Regions from separate parts of the Homo sapiens genome. Here regions 2 and 3 are each linked to region 1. Evidence: promoter capture Hi-C in human tissues and cell types (Jung and others, 2019). All regions are on one chromosome and are shown on one strand. Each heading gives the region's core, a stretch centred on a gene start or on the middle of the fragment in contact. The rest is flanking DNA. Distances are from core to core; before and after follow the strand shown.

Region 1 (4,632 bases), core at 1,674-4,173:
CAGCTGCATCCATTTGCAGTCTCAAGTTTTGGCTGTACCACTGGGGCCGATACTAGCTTGGGCCAACCTTGCTCAAAGGCTGAGAGGCCAAGTACAGGAGAACCGTGAGGATAAGATGTCTAGTCTCTCTGCTGAGCCACTTTCCTTAATGTCTTGAATGAATTTTCACAGACGTGGCATGTAGCAGTGAAACTGTTGTTACCAGTGGTTAAGTTTACATTTGAGGCACCCCGAGTTAAAATTTTACAAAGGACCTTGCTTCCTCCTACGTGAAAGGAAGAGGTTAGGAATGCCCTCTTCATGGAGAAAAGCCACTGTGAGCACAGACTTTCGTGTAGGCTTTGTGGATGGCTTGGTGGCCTCACTGTCAGGCTGGCACTGATGGCTCAGTTAGCATATCTGTTTTGATAAGTGCTGCAACAGTGCATTATAATTGTGGGCTGTGGTTTTAATTTCAAAGTGTTTCTTAAAAGACACATTATTTTAAAATGACAGAAAATTCAACTCCCTCGGTTACTGGCCCAGCTAAGCGACGTCACTGCATTGCAGTTCAGCGCTGAAGCTTGGGAGAGTCCCACACTCCTTACTGCAAGCGGATGTGGAGAGGCCAGTGGATAATCTCCTGTGAGCCCATGGCCTTCTTTTCATCCCAGGATGTGAATTGTCTTCACTGATTCATAGTTACACCCTGCCTGCCACAACCAACGCTCTCCTAAACAAGATTCCACCCTCTCCACAATCCGGATGAATCATCTCTTTTCCACCCTTCAGAGCTGGTAGTGAATCCTCCTTCTTCTTTTTCTTAAAAGCATCCTCCTCTCCTCATTTTAGGCAAGTTGCATCCCGTTTTCTGATGGACTCCAGAAGCAGGCTCGTAGTGAATGTCTTTCATGACCCACAGTCGCTGCCACGGGGCACCAAGGTCAGGCAGAAACCATCCAGTGCCACCTTGGTCAGAGGCTAACAGGAGAGAGGTGGCCACGAAAGTTACATCAGATTGACATAGGCCTGTGAAACATTTAGCTTCACTGAGCTTGGGAAAGACAACATCATTGGAAAAAACAATATTTTAGCCCAGGTTCAGCACTGACCCATTGATAATCCAGACTGGGAGGCCCTTAGGTGAGCTGGTTGTCCTGCTACAGCACCCACAGCTCAGGCCAGTCCCGTCCCAACAGCAGAACCACCGAGGACAGCAACATTCCGATTTTAACAAAAGCATCTTATGGAATTAGACATTCTTCATTGGCCCTCACTGAGTGGAAAACAGGATACTCCCCGAAGTAAACTCTCTCCTGGTTTACAACAATACACCTGGCCAAGAATATGGGGCTGCAGGAGGAGGGGTTTATCCTTTGCCCTCTTCCACCTGCCAAACCCAGGTCATACACCCTTCTACAGACCTGTCCAGTTACCATCAGCTGAGAAAAATACAGTTCCGAGAAACCCTATATTGTTATTTTATAAAGCTTGAGTTGAAGCTACCTGTTTTAAAGATCCTTTTTCAGGAAGAGGAGTAAATTAAGATTTACTCCCCAATGGGCTAGGGGGTCATGGGTTAAGAGGGGCTCAGAAGCAGGACGAAGTTGTTTTCAATATTCAAGTCAGAGGAGGAGCTGCCCTCCTGGCCTCCCGACCCTGGGCGGTTACATGCAGCTTCCTACCGGGCCCACGCCATCCTGCACCGCCTGGAGGGCTGCCAGAGGCCAGCGGAGGAGTTGGTTCAGTTCCTTAGGGAAGACACTAGGTGAATCACCAGGATCCAGAAAAGGCAAAAGGGACTCTTCACCCCTTAAATTTCTCCACCCTTAGGTGATGGGTGGTCGACCTTGCCTGGCTGTCCCCAGAGGGTTCCTCCACCCTTCTCACCAGTGTCTGAAATTGTGACCGACTGTGCACAGCAGTTTCGAAAGGGACTCTAAGGTCACATGGGGACACGGCCGTACCACGCTTCTCAAGGCAGTCCCAGGTGCATGGCCACGGAACCCAGCTCTCAGCAGCTGTTAGTTAGGTGAGCGCTGTTCGGGCTGCCTTCCTCCTCCAGTGGGGCAGGATCGAGGCACTGATGGAACCGTCCTGAGGACGCGGGTCTCAGCCGCACACCACCTCTTCGCGAACAAGGGTCCTAAAAATTTTCCTTCTAGGCGGGGAGCACAGCCCGGAAACAGACCCTCGTGAAGTGTTTAGGAAAAAGGGAAGCCACTGAAATCTTGGCCCCGGGGTAGGCCGGGATCGGCTGGCTCCGCGTTAGTTCTAGGCAAACTCCGCCCAAATCTCTGCCCGGGGATTTTTCTGCAGAAGCCGCTCCAAGAGGTAAAGGTCAGTTCCTGCAGCGAAGGCTTCCTGCTTCACCGGCGAAACGGAGCTTTGCTTCGAAGCTAAGCTTTCGGTGAATTTAAAACGTTTGGTGGCAGTGGGTCAAGTAGCCAGGCGGCTGCGCTAGAGTACCCCGAAGGGACATCGGCGACACCACAAACCTCGCGCTGGCGGCTCGCCCGCGCCTTTTTCCCCTCCCGCGCGCGCCCGGCCCCACTCGCACCCCGGGCGGTGCCATCGCGTCCACTTCCCCGGCCGCCCCATTCCAGCTCCGGAGCTCGGCCGCAGAAACGCCCGCTCCAGAAGGCGGCCCCCGCCCCCCGGCCCAAGGACGTGTGTTGGTCCAGCCCCCCGGTTCCCCGAGACCCACGCGGCCGGGCAACCGCTCTGGGTCTCGCGGTCCCTCCCCGCGCCAGGTTCCTGGCCGGGCAGTCCGGGGCCGGCGGGCTCACCTGCGTCGGGAGGAAGCGCGGCGGGGCCGGGGCGGGGGTCTCGGCGTTGGGGTCTCTGCGCTGGGGCTCCTGCGCTCCTAGGCGGGTCCTGGGCCGGGCGCCGCCGAGGGGCTCCGAGTCGGGGAGAGGAGCGCGCGGGCGCTGCGGGGCCGCAACACCTGTCTCCCGCCGTGGCGCCTTTTAACCGCACCCCACACCCCGCCTCTTCCCTCGGAGACTGGGAAAGTTACGGAGGGGGCGGCGCCGCGGGCGGAGCGCGCCCGGCCTCTGGGTCCTCAGAGCTTCCCGGGTCCGCGAACCCCCGACCGCCCCCGAAAGCCCCGAACCCCCCAAGTCCCCTTCGAGGTCCCGATCTCCTAGTTCCTTTGAGCCCCCATGAGTTCCCCAAGTGCCCCCAGCGCCCTGAGTCTCCCCCGGTTACCCCGAGCGCCGCCTCCCCCAGCCCCTTGGCGGCCCGGGTGAAGCGGGGGCGGCTGAGAGTCGGGACCCCCCAGGAAGCGGCGCCCCAGACCCCGGCTCCGGCGCTGTGCCGTGGGCGGGGTTCAGGGATGGCTGTGGTCGTTGTCCTCTGTACTCCGCATAGTGCGAGAGGACTTGGCATTTATGAGCGCTTCTTTAATTTTTTATTGTTAGAGAAACAGGCATTCCTCCAAGGACTGAAGATCTGTTCGAGTCGCGGAGGCTGCGCGGGCCCGCGAGGCTCTCGCAGGGGGACCTAGGCTGGGTGGCGGGGCAGTGCCCTCTGGAATGGGGGTTAACGGTGGCCGAGGAGGGGGCGCCGCTGGTGCCGGCGAAGTCCCCGCTTCTTTCTCCCCTCAAAATCTCACCAATCCGAACGAACGCCTTCTCGAATTTCCGATTTTATTCAATTACTTTCAACAATGTGCCAAGGACTAAGGTTGGGGGCGGTGGGAGAGACAAGCCTCGTTTTTGCCATGGCCGGCAGGGGGGTCCCGCCATCTGCGGAGGGTGCCCCCCGCGGCCCCCGGCCCAGCCAACTTCCTCCTCTTTTCGCAACTGGGGAACTGCAAGGAGGTGACTCCTTTCGGGGTGAGGAGGCCCAGACTTTTCAGAAAGGAAAGAGGGCAGGTAAAACCTGCCAAGCCCCTTCCTGCTCGATGCACACAGCACGAAAGGGGGAAACTGATAGGATTCTGCGGAAGACCGCTGGGGGGCTGGCTCTGCACTGCACACCTGCTGGGGGCTTTCTGGATACCGTGAAACTTTGTCTCAGATTATGAGGTCTCAGTATTTGCATTTGGTTGGGGATTTTGATGTCTTGCGATACAAATGACAGAAGACAGATTTGCACAGCGCAAGCGGATGAGGGACTAAGATGTGCAGAGCAGGCTGGGTGGGGACTCCCGGGGAGGTCTCCCCCAACCCCCGCCCCACCTCGGGCACCCACTTCGCGATTTTTGCAGAGGGGAGCCAGGTCAGAGGTGCAGCCTGGTCCCCTCGCGCTCACGTTTTTACCCAGGTCAGTTCGAAGTTAAGTGGAAATGATGATTAATCCTGACAAGTCAGATCTGGCCTCAGAATGGATTTCCCGTGATTGCCACCATTATTAGCATTGACTTTTCCTTGAAAAATTGGCGCCCCGTGGCCATGGGCCGACCTAGGCAGTTTCTGCAGGGACGAGCGTGAGTTTTGTACCGCGGTTACCACCTACTTTCCAGCTCCAGGTCTTAGTCTAAGAGGGAGTGTCTGCTCATGAAGAGGCAAAGCCCCAGGAGCTGCGAAAAGCCTTGCATGGCCCATCTGAGAGATGTGCTGAGTCGGCTTGTTAAAAATGACAGGCAAAGCCTGTGGGGTGGGGCAGCTTTCTTGGCCTGAGCGCATCTTGGTTGAGCCAGAGGTGACT
Region 2 (4,599 bases), core at 117-2,616, 540 kb after region 1:
CACACACACACACACACACGTACTATATATATATACACACATATGGAAAGCAAAAATAATTACTAAAAACTACATTTCCCAACGTTGAGCCAAGAGCCTTTTTCAGTAATATCCAATCTTGCAAACACAGGTGCGAATGTATTGCCACTCCCTTTTGCCATCTGCTCCCAATTTCTCCCCGCCCTGGGCCCACAGCGCACAGCCAGCTCCCCTGCGACATCCCCACAGGAGGTGGCATCCACAGCCCTGATTCCTCTCCTCTCTTCCCCTCCACACTCAAATACAGCAAGCTCTCTCAACTTCATCTTCAAAGTATCTCTTTGACGCCCCTGCCCTGCCCTCCTTGCAGGCCACCGCCCTCCCTGGGGTGCAGCAACAGCCCGCGGTGCCCAGGTCCACGTGCCCCAAAACCTCGGTCAAGTTAAAGCGAACGTCTTACGTCTTCAGACAAGTTGCGTCCCGTCGCCTTGGGCTTCTGAAGAAAACCCCAATGCCCACGGTCCCCTGTTAGGCACTGGGGGCCTCCTGCCCCGACTCTGCCCTCCCGGGCCGCTGTGGCCGTGGCTCCTGACCCCTCAGGTCCCTGGGGCAAAGTGCAGATCCCTGGGTCTCTGTTACTCTTCTCAGAGTTAGTGCTTCCAGCCTTTAGTCTATTTTATTATTATTTTTTAAAAGTATCCCCTGAAACTAAAATGCACACTCCATGAGGCCAGAGCGCTGCCTGCTGGTGCACAGAGCACTGCAGAGAGCTCAAGGAAGCAACGGAGTGAATAAGCGTGCAGGCAACCACGGCATCTGTGCGAACAGAGCGCCCCTTCCCACACACGCAGCTCTGCAACACCAGAACAGCTTCCCGTGGCTCCACTCCTGGCCCAGCCCTGTTCCCAGCAGGGTGCCCAGGGGACAAGCGCGGCCCGGAGGGACTGGGGTATAGCGTCCACAACAGCACTCAAGGGTGTGGACACCACAGGTACCCAGAAATAAAGAGACGGGTCAGTTGGTAAGGTTTCAGTTCTCAGAATTTTTTTTTCTTTGAGACAATCTTGCTCCCTGCCCAGGCTGAAGTGCAGTGGCACCATCAGAGCTCACTGTAGTCTCGACCTTCAGAGATCAAGCAATCATCCCACTGAGAGGTGAAGCCAGCTGGACTTCCTGGGTCTAGTGGGGACTTGGAGAACTTTTCTGTCTAGCTAGAGGATTGTAAACACACCAATCAGCACTCTGTAAAATGGACCAATCAGCACTCTCTGAAAAATGGACCAATCAGCACTCTGTAGAATGGACCAATAAGCAGGACGTGGGCAGGGACAAACGAGGGAATAAAAGCTGGCCACCCCGCAGCCAGCAGTGCAACCAGGTGTTGTCCTCTTCCATGGTGTGGAAGGTTTGTTTTTTGCTCTTCATAATAAAGCTTGCTGTTGCTCACTCTTTGGGTCCACACCAACTTTAAGGTCTGTAACACATACCGCAAGGGTCTGCCGCTTCTTTCCTGAAGTCAGCGAGACCACGAACCCACCAGGAAGAAAAAACAATTCCGGAGGTGCCGCCTTTAAGAGCTGTAACACCACGAGGTCTGTGGCTTCATTCTTCAAGTCAGTGAGACCAAGAACCGATCAGAAGGAAGAAACTGCAGACACACCACCTCCATCTCCCAAATGGCGGGGAGGCCCATGCAACCACACCTGGCTAATGTTTAAAATTTTTGTAGAGATGGAGTCTTGCTGTGTTGCCCAGCCTGGTCTAGAACTCCTTGCCTCAAGTAATCCTCCCACCTTGAAGTTCTCAGATTTACTCTATTGAATTTTACCATATCTGCCTTAAGTGTATCAAACCCAGCTTGGTGGCACACACCTGTAAGTTCCAGCTACTTGGGAGGCTGAGGTGGGAGGACGGCTTAGCCCAATGGTTTGAGGTTACAGAGAGAAAAAAAGTATAACGATCTCGCCAGTAAGAAAACTCTTCTACATTAACCCAATCTAATGTCTACTCTGTAACCTCAGGCAATTCACTTAAACTCTATAGATTCCAAATTTCTCTTTGATAAAGGGTAGAGGCTGGATAAGATACCGATAGTATTGATGATGGTATGTAAAAGTAACAGCTGACATTCATCAAGTAGTCACCATGCACCAGACCCAGTGTTGGGTACTTTGTGTCACTTAATTCTTTAGGACCCTTAATGGCAGAGTATTATCAGTCCTAGTTTACAGATAAGGAATCCAGGGCACAAAGAGTTAAATAACTTGTTCACAAGTCACACAGGAAGTGGTGGACTCAGGATTTTTTCTTGACCCTGAAGACCTGAATAGCCACTGTCAGTGACTTTGATGAGATATGAAATGCAGCACCTACCTGTGCACAGCAGAATCTTGCCCCGCGTCAGGTACTTGACGGTTTCCGATGTTTTTCTGAGACATTCCTCCGAAAGATAGGGAGGATCTGCTATTACGATGTCAAAACTATGTGCAGCAATTCTTTCGGGTAAGTCCAATGGATTATTGTAATCATAGAAAATAAACTCCTCTCCATACATGGCAAATCTTTTGTCATATTCAAAGATGTATATCGAAAAGTTTTCTCTGCACAGCTCTCTGAGTTTCTGGTAAACACTAGGGGCACTCACACATGCGATTCTAGGAGACAAAATGAACACACCATGAAACATCCTTAACAGAGAGATTACGGTGTTAACAACTTCTTCACTAAACAATACATGGGTCCGAGTGCTCAGAGTTTCTTACAGGAAACAATAATGCAAACTAGTGTAATAGTTAATGTTGAGAAAAAACTTTATAGTGTCTCACTTTTAAGGAATCTGGTACTTAAAAGTCTGTAACTTATAATTTTTTTTCTTTTTTTTTGAGATGGAGTCTCACTCTGTTGCCAAGGCTGGAGGGAAGTGGCGTGATCTCGGCTCACTGCAACCTCTGCCTCCTGGGTTCAAGCTATTCTCCTGCTATTCCTCCCAAGTAGCTGGGATTACAGGCACGCGCCACTGCGCCTGGCTAATTTTTTTGTATTTTTAGTAGAAATGGGGTTTCATCATGTTGGCTAGGCTGGTCTTGAACTCCTGACCTCAGGTGATCAGCCTGCCTCGGCCTCCCAAAGTGCTGGGATTACAGGCATGAGCTACCGCGCCTGGCCTATAGCTTATAATTTTGAGGTATGAAAGGCTATAGTTTTTATAGTGAAAAATGTAAAATATCAGGAACACATTATGACAAAATTTAGATGTAGTTAGCCCAAAGCCTAAATTTACCTATTATTTTCATGCTAGGCCTTTGATATTTATTTTAAATACTTTTTGTCCCAACTAAATACTATAAAGTCATTTTGTAATATTCATGATCTTGAAAGATAAACCCAAATAACTCCCCAACTCACTCCAGTTTTCCATAAAGATACATTAAAATGTGCTCTCACTGCAGACAAGCTATTCTGAATTTCTGCTTTGCTTCTTTTTTGTATAAGGAAATTAAAGTATCTATCTCATTACAGCAGCCCAGTTTATGAATGGGTAGTGTTTTAAGAGTTAACTGTTAAAACCAACTGCCAAAAAGCTAGAAGTAACCTAAATACGGAATTATTGAGTTGACTGTGATACACTTTTTTTTTTTTTTTTTTTGAGACAGGGTCTCACTCTGTTGCCCAGGCTGGAGTGCAGTGGCATGACTTCGGCTCACTGAAACCTCTGCCTTCCGGGTTCAAGCGATTCTCCTGCCTCAGCCTCCTGAGTAGCTGGGATTACAGGCACCCGCCACCACGCCTGGCTAATTTTTGTAATTTTAGCAGAGACGGGGTTTCACCATCTTGGCCAGGCTGGTCTTGAACTCCTGACTTCATGATCCACCTGCCTTGGCCTCCCAAAGTACTGAGATTACAGGTGTGAGCCACCGTGCCTGGCCACTAATTATTTTTATAGAGACAGGGTTTTGCCACTTTACCCAGGCTGGTCTCAAACTCCAGAGCTCAACATCTGCCTGCCTTGACCTCCTAAAGGAGGCGTGAGCCACTGTGCCCAGCTGGTATGCCTATTACAATGGAAAGTTCTGTGGCCATTTAAAAAAGGCTGAAGCAGCCCTCTCTATGCTGATAAGGAATGATCTCTGAGATCTATTCAAGGAACAGAACAGTGTGAAGTATGCTTTCATGGGAGTGGGAATATATGCATATAGATGTACAGGTGACCTCTAGAAGGTGTCCAAGAGACAGTGACCATGACTGCCTCATGGGAGAGTGCCTGGGGGACCTGGATACAATAGAGAAGAGAGTGACCTTTTCTCACAATTCCTTTGTCACGTTTGGATTTTTATATGTGCATACACTGTCATTCAAAAAAGGACCTAATTTAAAAATTACGCTCAGCTTTAAAAATGTGTGACGCATTTCCAACAGAGACAGTGTTACCCGTCTTACTTAGGTACCCATGCCGGGCTAAGCAGGCTTCTCAGCCCAAAGACACTGCAACAGATAATAGAACCCGTGACATCGCATAATGTTTCTTTGGAAACATGTGTTTCCCTGCTGGCAGGACACAACTCTCCCTGCACAGCAGCTCTAGATCAGGGCGGTAGGAGGGGGAAAAGAAGCTGGAGTACA
Region 3 (4,460 bases), core at 1,262-3,761, 570 kb after region 1:
TAGAAGGCATACAAGTGGCCAAGAAACATGAAAAAATGCTCAGCATCACTAATTATCAGAGAAGTGCAAATTAAAATCACAATGAGATGCCATCTCACACCAGTCGGAATGGCTATTATTAAAAAGTCAAAAAATAGGACGGGCACAGTGGCTCATGCCTGTAATCCCAGCACTTTGGGAGGCCAAGGCCAGTGGATCACGAGGTCAGGAGATTGAAACCATCCTAGCTAACACAGTCAAACCCTGTCTCTACTAAACATACAAAAAAATTAGCCGGGTGTGGTGGCGGGCACCTGTAGTCCCAGCTACTCGGGAGGCTGAGGCAGGAGAATGGCGCGAACCCGGGAGGCGGAGCTTGCAGTGAGCTGAGATTGCGCCACTGCACCCCAGCCTGGGGAACAGAGCGAGACTCTGTCTCAAAAAAAAAAAAAAAAAAAAAGTCAAAAAATAACAGATGTGGGCAAGGATATGAGAAAAGGGAATGCTTATACACTGCGGGTATGAATGTAAGTTAGCTAATCCTATGTAAAACAAAAAGACCCCTGTACTAGGCTGTTTATTGCAGGACTATTCACAATAGTAAAGCCATGGAATCAACCTAAGCGTCCTATCAAAGATGGGCTGGATAAAGAAAATGTGCTACATATACACCATGGAATAGTACACAGCCATAAAAAAGAGTGAAATCATGTCCTTTGCAGCAACATGGATGCAGCTAGAGGCTATTATCCTACGTGAATTAAAAGAGAAACAGAAAACCAAATACCACATGCTCTCACTTGTAGACGGGAGCTAAACAATGGGTACAGGTGGACATAAAGACAGAAATAATAGATACTAGGGACTCCAAGAGAGGAGCCGGGAAGAGTGGGGGAAGGATTGAAAAAAACTACCCTATCAGATATTATGTTCAATATTGGGTGATGGGTTCACTAGAAACCCAAACTCCAGTATCACCCAATATACCCTGCACATGTATGCCCTGAATCTAAAATTAAAAATAAAATATGTTTTAAAATTTAAAAATATACATACTCTAAAAAATTAAAAAGAATACACAGATAAAACATCAAAATAATGGACACACTTAATGCTGATGAGAAGGTAGTGATATTGGTATACTCTCTAATTTAGATAACAATTTAAATTGGCATAATCTTTTGGAAAAGAATCTGATAATTTGGACATAAATATTTCTATTTTTCTACACCAATTCTCATTCCTAAGCTTTCTACTCTGAAATAATCACAGATTCACAGGAATGTGCAAAAATAATGAAGGTCCATCCCATGTATCCTTCCACCTATTTTTCCACAATGGTAGTAACTTATATAACTACAGTGCATTGTCAAACCAGGAAATGAACAGTACAATCCACAGAGCTCGTGCAGTTCACCAGTTTTACACACATTTATTTGCAGGCGTATGCACATGTGTATAGTTTTATATAATGATATCACGTGTAGATTCATGAAAACACTTCCATGGATAAGAGACAGAATATTCCAGCACCAAAGAGATGAGTTGTACTACCTTTTTAAAGTCATTCCCATCCTCTCCCACCTCAATCTCCATTCTTAACCCCTGGAAAGCATTTGTTCTCCGTTTCAATAATTTTGTCACTTTAGATAAATGGAATCATACATTATATAACTTGAGATTGTCATTTTCACTCAGCATGGTTTAAAATTTACCCAGGTTGTTCTGTGTATCAATAGTTTATTCCTTTTTATTGCTGAGTAGTAATCCATAGTATGGCCACACTTAACCATTCACCCACTAAAACATTTGGGTTGTTTCCAATTTTAAGGTATTACAAATAGAGCTGTTGTGAACATTCCTGTAAAATGTATAGGAATTTTCATTTTCATTTCTCTGGATAAATGCTCAAGAGTATGATGTTGGATTTTATGGTTAGAGTGTGTTTATTTTGAGGACATCAAAAAATTTATTTCATGATGATACATTATAAGAGGGTTTCATCAAATGAAGAACTGAATCCCTGTACTATGAGGTTTACTGTGGCCAGAGAAGTCAGGATTCTCTTTGCAGTCATGTAGTTGTTTTTGAAATGCCTATTGAAGTGAAATGTGCAAATTTTAAAACATTTGTATTGAGATCTAATTCATATACCATACAATTCATCTATTTAAAGTGTATAATTCAGGTGGAATGTGGGAGGCTGAGACAGGAGGATCACTTGAGCCTAGGAGCAGCCTGGGCAATACAGTGAGACCTTGTCTCTACAAAAATGTTTTTAAAAATTAGCTGAGTGTGATGGCATGTGCCTGTAGACCCAGCTACATGGGAGGCTGTGGTGGGAGGATCACTTGAGTCTGGAGGCATAGGATGCAGTGAGCCAAGATCATACCACTGTATTTCAGCCTGGGTAACAGAACGAGAACCTTTATTTTTCGGGGTCTTCCAATCCATAAAACATGGCACATCTCTCCATTTATTTAGTTCATCTTTGATGTATTTCATCAGTCTTTTTTTTTTTTTTTTTTTTAATTTGAGGCAGAGTCTTGCTCTGTTGCCCAGGCTGGAGTGCAGTGGTGCATTCTTGGCTCACTGCAACCTCCACCTCCTGGGTTCAAGCGATTCTCCCTGCTTCAGCAGCATCCCCAGTAGCTGGGATTACAGGCACCTGCCACCACGCCCAGCTAAATTTTTTTGCATTTTTAGTAGAGATGGGGTTTCACATGTTGGCCAGGCTAGTTTCGAACTCCTAACCTCAAGTGATCCGCCCACCTCGGCCTCCCAAAGTGCTGGGATTACAGGCATGAACCATCGTGCCTGGCCAGGACTTCTAGTGAGCTGAATAGGAGTGATAAGAGCAGATATCCTACACTTGTCCCAGATTTTAAGTGGGAAAGCATTCAATCTTTCACCATTAAATATGATGCAGCCACAACCTTCTGGGCTCAAGTGATCTTTCCACCTCAGCCTCCCAAGCAGCTGGGACTACAGGCATGCGCCACCATGCCCGGCTAACATTTTTATTTTTTGTAGAGATGGGGTCCCACTCTGGTGCCCAGGCTGGTCTCAAACTCCTGAGCTCAAGTGTTCCTCCTGCCTCAGCCTCCGAAAGTGCTGGGATTACAGGTGTGAGTCACTACACCCAGGGTGTAGATGTTCTATGTTAAGATGAGGACATTCCCTTTATTAGTAGTTTGCCAAGTTTCATCATGAATGGGTGTTGAATTTTCAAATAACTTTTTGATATCAACTTATACGATCATGTGATTTTTCTTTAACCTCATGATATAAATTAAACTGATTATCTATTAAACCAGTCTCACATTCCTGGAATAGGTTCCACTTAACTGATTCTTCTTATGTATTGCTAAATCATATTTACTAATATTTTGCTGAGGATTTCGTCACCTATCTTCATGAGGTATATTTGTCTATTGTTTTCGGTCTTTGTATTGTCTTTGGTTTTGGTAACAAGGTAATATTGGTCTCATCAAATAAACTAGAAATGTCTCCTCTTCTATTTTCTGGAAAAGACTGTGTACAATCAGTGCTAACGCAATAAACATTTGGTAATTTTTTTCAGTGAAATCATGTGCTATGGATTCAATTGACACACCACCCCCCTCCCACCCTGCACCCCATTTATATGTTAAAGCCTTAACCCTCATTGTAATTATATCTGGAGATGCTAGGTTGGTGCAAAGGTAATTGCTGTTTCTGCCATTACTTTTAGCCACCCAGTCTACGGTATTTTGTTATAGCATCCCTAGCATTTAAGGCCCGAAATTTTTGTTTTTTTTTTTTGAAACAGAATTTTGCTATTGTCGCCCAGGCTGGAGTGCAATGGCTCGATCTCAGCTCACGGCAACCTCCGCCTCCTGGGTTCAAGCGATTTTCCAGCCTCAGCCTCCCAAATAGCTGGGATTACAGGTGCCTACCACCCACCCTGGCTAATTTTTGCATTTTTAGTAGAGATGGAGTTTCACCATGTTGGCCAGGCCAGTCTCAAACTCCTGACCTCTGGTGATCTGCCCGCCTAGGTCTCCCAAACTGCTGAGATTACAGGCATGAGCCACCATGCCTGGCCTGAAAATTTCTTGTATGAGAGGCCTTTAACTGCAAATTCAATTTAATACTTACACGGCTATTCACATTATCAGTTTCATATGGGGTGAGTTCTCGTAGTTTGTAGTTTCAACGAATTGGTCTGCTTCATCTAAGTTGTTAAAATTTATCTGGATAGAGATGTTTATAGCAGTCCTCAATTATTTCTAATGTCTTTAGGATCTGTACTGATATCCCCCATTTCATTCCTAATGTCAGTAATTTCTGTTTTCTCTTTTTTCTTACTAAAGGTTCATCAATTTTATTGATCTCTTTTAAAAAATAAGTTTTTGCATCATTGACTTTATTTTCAATTTCATTGATTTCTGCCTTTCATTTCCTTCCTTCTACTTGCTTTGCATTTGTTTTAAACTACC

The links. Contacts are between HindIII fragments. The study calls those that stand out against the background at their distance.
Region 2: a contact is called between a fragment that was not itself captured here and the fragment with the promoter of GJB2 in region 1, in 1 of the 25 tissues and cell types used here (heart left ventricle).
Region 3: a contact is called between a fragment that was not itself captured here and the fragment with the promoter of GJB2 in region 1, in 1 of the 25 tissues and cell types used here (lymphoblastoid cells).

Annotation. Positions count from the first base shown.
Region 1 is chr13:20,190,015-20,194,646 of GRCh38, forward strand. GJB2 (gap junction protein beta 2) reads right to left here and starts at 2,924. Exons shown (of 2, transcript NM_004004.6): 1 at 2,769-2,924. The HindIII fragment of the contact is 6,658 bases long and covers 1,927-4,632 here.
Region 2 is chr13:20,729,489-20,734,087 of GRCh38, forward strand. EEF1AKMT1 (EEF1A lysine methyltransferase 1) reads right to left here. Exons shown (of 5, transcript NM_001318939.2): 4 at 2,353-2,633. Among named protein-coding and RNA genes, the nearest start is that of IL17D, 28 kb to the left of the region's middle. RefSeq lists enhancers at 101-628, 629-1,155. The HindIII fragment of the contact is 5,378 bases long and covers 1-4,055 here.
Region 3 is chr13:20,759,687-20,764,146 of GRCh38, forward strand. All of the region lies in intron 1 of EEF1AKMT1 (EEF1A lysine methyltransferase 1), which reads right to left. Among named protein-coding and RNA genes, the nearest start is that of EEF1AKMT1, 12 kb to the right of the region's middle. The HindIII fragment of the contact is 7,304 bases long and covers 1-4,460 here.